Regions from separate parts of the Homo sapiens genome. Here region 2 is linked to region 1. The links are contacts of gene promoters, found by promoter capture Hi-C in blood cells and fetal thymus (Javierre and others, 2016). All regions are on one chromosome and are shown on one strand. Each heading gives the region's core, a stretch centred on a gene start or on the middle of the fragment in contact. The rest is flanking DNA. Distances are from core to core; before and after follow the strand shown.

Region 1 (3,004 bases), core at 200-2,699:
GCCCGTCCCTATGCACCAGCACGGCCGGCGAAACCTTCTTTCGGAACCAGCGTAGCTCCAAGTGCTCGGCGCTCGCGTTCGGAGACAGGCGACAGGGCAGCTCGGCGTCCTCACCCACAACGGCCAGGATGGGCTCCGGGGGTCCAATCACGTCAAAGGGAGCTGCCGAAAAACGAGCGGGATCAGACGGGATGTGGAGATGGGAACTACGGACAGACACCGACCAGATTCCCGCCAAAGCGCAGTGCCCCGCGCTCTCTTACTCCTTTGACAGCTGAGTTTGTCTGGATCCAGTGGAGGTCTCCAGGGAGAGCCAAGTGGGATTGTTTATTTTACATTTATTGATATATTTCAACTATGCAGCCCAGAGAGAGAGAGAGACTTACCTGAATCCAGTTTGGGCAGCTGGAGGAGAATGAGGGTGAGCAGACATCTGGGGAGACCGGAGCTTGGGAAAACTGCCATCTCCCACCCTTCTGGAGCAGCAAGATAACTGATGTGAGTCCCCTCAGGAGCTTCAGCCTAGGAGATGAATGGACAGGAGACAACTACCGGCTCTGTCAACCCTCCGCTTTCCAAAGTCCTCTCTACAGTTCTTTCCAGCTGCAAGTGTTCTGGTCATTTGCCCCTGAAACCTCCTCTCAGCCTCCATCCCCAGTATGGATTTTTAGTTTACACTGTGGTTATCACCTTCCCACCCACTACTCTAACTCTAAAACTTAGGAGAAGGGAACTGTGAGGCATAACACTCATTAGTTGGTTGCATATCGATGAACAAATCTTGGAATCACTGCACTAAAAAAAAAGTCTCCTTTTTATTTATTTATTTATTTATTTTTGAGACAGTCTTGCTCTGTTGCCCAGCTTGGAGTGCAGTGGCATGATCTCGGCTCAATGCAACCTCAGCCTCCTGGGTTCAAGCGATTGTTCTGCCTCAGCCTCCGGAGTAGCTGGGACTACAGGCGCGCACCACCATGCCCCGCTATTTTTTGTATTTTCAGTAGAGACGGAGTTTCACCACGTTGGCCAGGCTGGCCTCGAACTCCTGACCTCGTGATCCACCCGCCTTGGCCTCCCAAAGTGCTGGGATTACAGGCGTGAGCCACCGTGCCTGGCCAAAGTCTTTTTTCAAATACAAGAATTTGGTATTTGCTTTTGGCAATGATAATAAAGATAAGGGTATAAAGGCAGAAATGGAGTCCAAGGAAATGAATTGGAGAAGAGAGAAAAGATGGGAGGAGATGGAGCAAGAAGCAGGAGCTGAAGCAAGCAAAAGGGCTTGAAGAGTAGAGGGCCTAGGACCAAGGAGAAAGGAGCTGGAGGGAGAGAAGTATGCTATGCCCCTCTGGCTGCTCACTCCCTCAGGGAGCTGAGAGTAACCACACATACTGACCTGGGTGATCTTGGAGAAAAAGGCACAAGAGGCCACTGCTACCAAGTGAGAAAGCTGGCTGTGGCCCCCGGGGCAAAAGTTAAAAGCCAGCAGGAAAAGGAAGCGGGAGGTGCTCTCAGGAAAGCCTGCCTCCAGGTGGCCTGGTATATTCACTCTGAGGAAAAAAAAAAGGGAGATGAAAAGTTTTTCAGAGAGATGGAAAACTGGATTTGTGGTCTTCAGCTCAGAAATCAAGATATGCATTGATGAGCTGGACCAAATGAAAGGCAGAAAAGAGAAAAAGAGAAGAGAGGCAAGGAAACACACAAATGAGATGTGATGGCTTCAGCCAGTTATTTCCTCTTTCCAAGCCTCAGTTCTTTGATCTCTAAAATGGTAATAATATTGATCATACCTTTCTTGAAGAGGTGTTGGGAGGATTAAGTGAGATTAAGCAGGTAAAGTGCTTAGCACATAGTAGGAACTCAGCGGAGGATAAATTGTTATTCTATTATTATTTCTGCGGGTTGAAAAATGAAAGCCCAGAGGCCAAGGTAGCAGTAGCCTCTGTCTATAGCCATCTTCGTTATTGGAGCGTCCGTCCACCTTAGGTGCTGTGTCTGTTGGAACAACTCCATTAAAGGCCAGTCTTAAGGGTAGGCTGTGAATTCTGTTTACAGGGCCCAAAAGTTGCCTCCCTGACAATTATTTCTTTTGAAGCAACTCATCATGAGGCCTACAATTCCTTAATTTATACTAAACCTACCTCTCATTGTTATGAAAAAATTTAAAAATACAGAAAAATATTTTTATAAAATGGAGGTCACACTTAATCTACTAACTAATGATAGCCTCAATTCACATTTTGGCATAGTCCTTCCAAGATTTATTTTATGCTTATGTATATCATAAAAGCAATCAATTAGACTTTTTGTGTAACTCAAAATATTGTTAATAGTTGTATAATTGCCATGATTGTGGGACATTTGGGATTTTTTTCCTATTGTAAATAATACACTTTATATATAAGTCTTTATTTGCAAATTGGATAATGTCCTGATAAACTGTTTAATAAATTTCCAGAAATAGAGTCATCAGATCAAATGGTATAAGCATATTTCTTTTCTTTTCTTTTTTTTTTTGAGACGGAATCTCACTCTGTCGCCTAGGCTGGAGTGCAGTGGCGTAATCTTGGCTCACTGCAACCTCCGCCTCCAGGGTTCAAAGGATTTTCCTCTTGCCTCAGCCTCCTGAGTAGCTGAGATTACAGGCACGTGCCACCATGCCCAACTAATTTTTGTATTTTAGTGGAGACAGGGTTTCACCATGTTGGCCAGGCTGGTCTCGAACTCCTGAGCTTCAATGATCTGCTTGCCTTGGTCTCCCAAAGTGCTGGGATTACAGGTGTGAGCCACCATGCCCGACCTAGTATCAGCATATTTCTACAGTCCCTTCCTGAAATGTTGAATCCATCACACCCTCAATGGAGGTGCCCTCACCTAATCCCTGCTAGCACTGAGAAGTTATTATTTCACATCCTTACTATTGGGATGGGTCAAGTTAATTAAATTATTATTTATTGTGCCTTTATATGTTAGCGAGGCTGGAGTTTTTTATGTGTTAATTAGACAT
Region 2 (3,004 bases), core at 288-2,787, 360 kb after region 1:
CCTAAGGCCAACCAATTCAGAACCCCAGCCTCTTCATCCTTAATCTGAAGGGACTGTGCTAAAGAAAATGGGAGTTTCTTTCTGTCCTCTTTCATTCTTTCCTTCCACAGGGCCTGTCTACCTAGGGCCTTCCACATTTCTCTTTGCTCTGCCAAGTTTGCTCAGGTACCCAGTCTAGATGAATTCTCCATGTCCTCACTGAAGGTAGGAAGTCAAGTTGAACCAAAAGCAGGGGGCATCCCTGTTTGGAAAGCCTCTGCTTCTTGAAAGGTGGCTCAGCTGAGTTACAAACACGCATGCCTTCCACTGGGGCTGCTGCTTCTGAACCTGGAGCTGACTTGGTGGGAGGTGTGTGGGTACACTCCACCACCATTCAACATTCCATGTCTACCATGCTGACTCTTCTAAAAGCTTCATGTAGCCATGGGGGCAAACTGCAACCAGACTCAGTTAGTACTTAGGTGTAAGAACCCCAATTACTTCAATTTCTGCAGGTGGAAGCCAGCAAATCTCTGACAGAAATCCCAACATCCTGTCCTGCTTTCACTTTTCCACATTTGAAAATGGACAGAAGACAGTCTTTATATAATCTTGCACATATTTGTCAGGTTTTACAAGGAATATAGTGTTTTCTCATCTGCCATCTCATTTGATAGTTTTTCATAACTCTGGGAGGTACTATTACCTTATTTTACAGAAGAGAAATTCTGAGATGGCAGGTAACTAATCCCATCAGACATTTGGTGAGTGGCAGAGCTGAAAAAAAATCACAAGTATTTTGGCTTCAGATTCCTGTGTCTTTCCAGAACACCTGAGTGTCTATGCAGGTGTGTGTGTGTGTGTGTGTGTATAGACACACAAAACCCACTTTTTATAGATTTATTGTATAGGCATTTTTGTTTTTTTTGAGACAGGGTCTCGCTCTGTTGCCCAGAGCTGGAGCGCATTGCTGTGATCATGGCTCACTGCAGCCTTGACCTCCAGGGATCAAACAATCCTCCCACCCTAGCCCTGGAGTAGCTGGGACCAGAAGTGCAGGCCCACCAAGCAGTTAAATTTTACATATTTTGTAGAGATGGGGTTTCTCCATGTTGTCCAGGCTGATCTCGAAATCCTGGGTTCAAGCCATCTGCCCAACTTGGCTTCCCCAAATGCTAGGATTACTGGCCTAAGCCACAGTACCTGGGCAAAGTACTTCTTAAGAATAAATTGGGTGTTCCCTTCTTCCAACTCAGCCTATGATATTAAGGTGGCTCTCTTGCCAGCTCCTGAAAATTCGGGGCCAGAATTGAAATTTCCATACAGAGTAGGCCTCATGAATTCATCAGCCATTTCTCGGGTGACTACTATTTGCCAGGCAGCGTCAGGCACCATGCTGGGACCTGGGAATACAGCAGTGGACCATACAGGCCCTTAGCCACCAATACACACAGATTTGTAAAAGTAACAGTCAGTCTTAAAACCAGACCTTGACTGCAGATGAAAAAGTAGGCAAAAGAGGGCAGGCAGGTCAGGAGGATGTGTTTCCTAATCATTATGCAAGGAAGAAAGGAAATGGCAATTTAACCAGGGAGGTGTCCTAGGCAGAAAATTAATGACACATGCTTTCCTCTCCCTTTGCATTACCTTTTATTACCTCATGCCAGGCTGGAATTTGGGAAATCTGTTTCTATTACAATGTATACATTATACATTAAATAAGATTATGCACATTACAAATAAAATTATTTCAAAATTAAGAAATTACACATAGTTCAATTAAAATTAAATTTGAAAATAATTTTATTTGTGCTGTTCTTTAGAGCACCAACAATTCATACACATGATCTTCATTCTCATAGCCACTTAAGGTAAGTATTACCTCCATTTTAGAGGTGAAGAAATTAAGGTTCAAAATAACTAATTTGGTGATGGCCACATAGTTTTTAAGAACGTTGAGTCTAGCCCAAGAGTGACTGGAATTTTCAGTTCACTTACCACCATTCCAGCAGAATAGCAGAGCAATTTCAATTTTGCAGTAAATCAGGGTTAATCATCCCAGAACTGTTTGATAGCAAAAGACTAAAACAACTCAAGTGCCTACCAACAGTGGACAGGTTACATAAAATATAATGCATTTGCATAATGCAGTACATGCAACTGTGTACAGGAAGCTCTGTATGTTCTCATAGGGAAAGTTCTCCAAGATAGATTGTTATGAAAAGGGCAAGTGCAGAAAAGTCTACACAGTCTGCTACCTGACAAGAATGAAAAAAGTGAAGAAAACACGTATCATTCATTATTGACTGATATCAGCAGGAATGAATACTGGGCAGATACACAAGAAAAAGAAAAGTGACCACCTGGGTAAGTTGAGGGATGGATTCTTTATATATAATCTCTTTACTTCAAATAGTTTGAACCCTGTGAATGTAATACTTATTTAAAAAATTAAACACATTTTGTATTCAGAAGAACTTCCCCTCAATAATATTCTTTCTCTTCATTTTATCCTCCTTATCTCCCCACACATGATGTAGAATGTTTTTAATAAAACAATTTGCGGATGCAGAATCAATCAGTAATGTAGGAATCAGTAATGCCATCCATCCACTTATTCCTTAGAATTGGTAAGTTTGGCAGGCACTTAGGATCCTGGCATCTCTCTGAAATGAGAAGCTTTTGCAACCTAAGAGAGAGAGAAGAAAAAGTAAATATATCTGGAAACCACCTTCTTGGCCTTCCTTACACATACAGAAAAACTTACAGATCCTTTTCTTCATAATGAGTTAGTTCTTTACAGGTACCACAGCCCTTCTCAATTCCTCAAATAACTCCCTGTGGTGTAAAAGGACCTATCCAGACTAGACACTCCAGTTTTGCTCTTCAGATAGGGTTGCTAGATTTGGCACATTAAAAATACCAAATGTCCAGTTAAATCTGAATTTCAAATATATATATATATATATATATATATATATATATATATATATATATATATATATGTATAGAATGTCTCATGTAA

The links. The method cuts DNA at HindIII sites, captures the fragments that hold promoters and counts their contacts. A CHiCAGO score of 5 or more calls a contact.
Region 2: a fragment that was not itself captured here is called in contact with the fragment with the promoter of BTN1A1 in region 1 in 2 of 17 cell types (neutrophils and total CD4 T cells); the score reaches 6.7 in neutrophils.

Annotation. Positions count from the first base shown.
Region 1 is chr6:26,498,748-26,501,751 of GRCh38, reverse strand. BTN1A1 (butyrophilin subfamily 1 member A1) reads right to left here and starts at 1,449. Exons shown (of 8, transcript NM_001732.3): 1 at 1,394-1,449; 2 at 387-522; 3 at 1-162. The coding sequence starts at 465. The region is part of intron 1 of LOC107986583 (a long non-coding RNA gene); the gene reads left to right. RefSeq lists an enhancer at 31-160. The HindIII fragment of the contact is 5,298 bases long and covers 1-3,004 here.
Region 2 is chr6:26,137,718-26,140,721 of GRCh38, reverse strand. No RefSeq gene overlaps it. Among named protein-coding and RNA genes, the nearest start is that of H2AC6, 15 kb to the right of the region's middle. The HindIII fragment of the contact is 2,247 bases long and covers 414-2,660 here.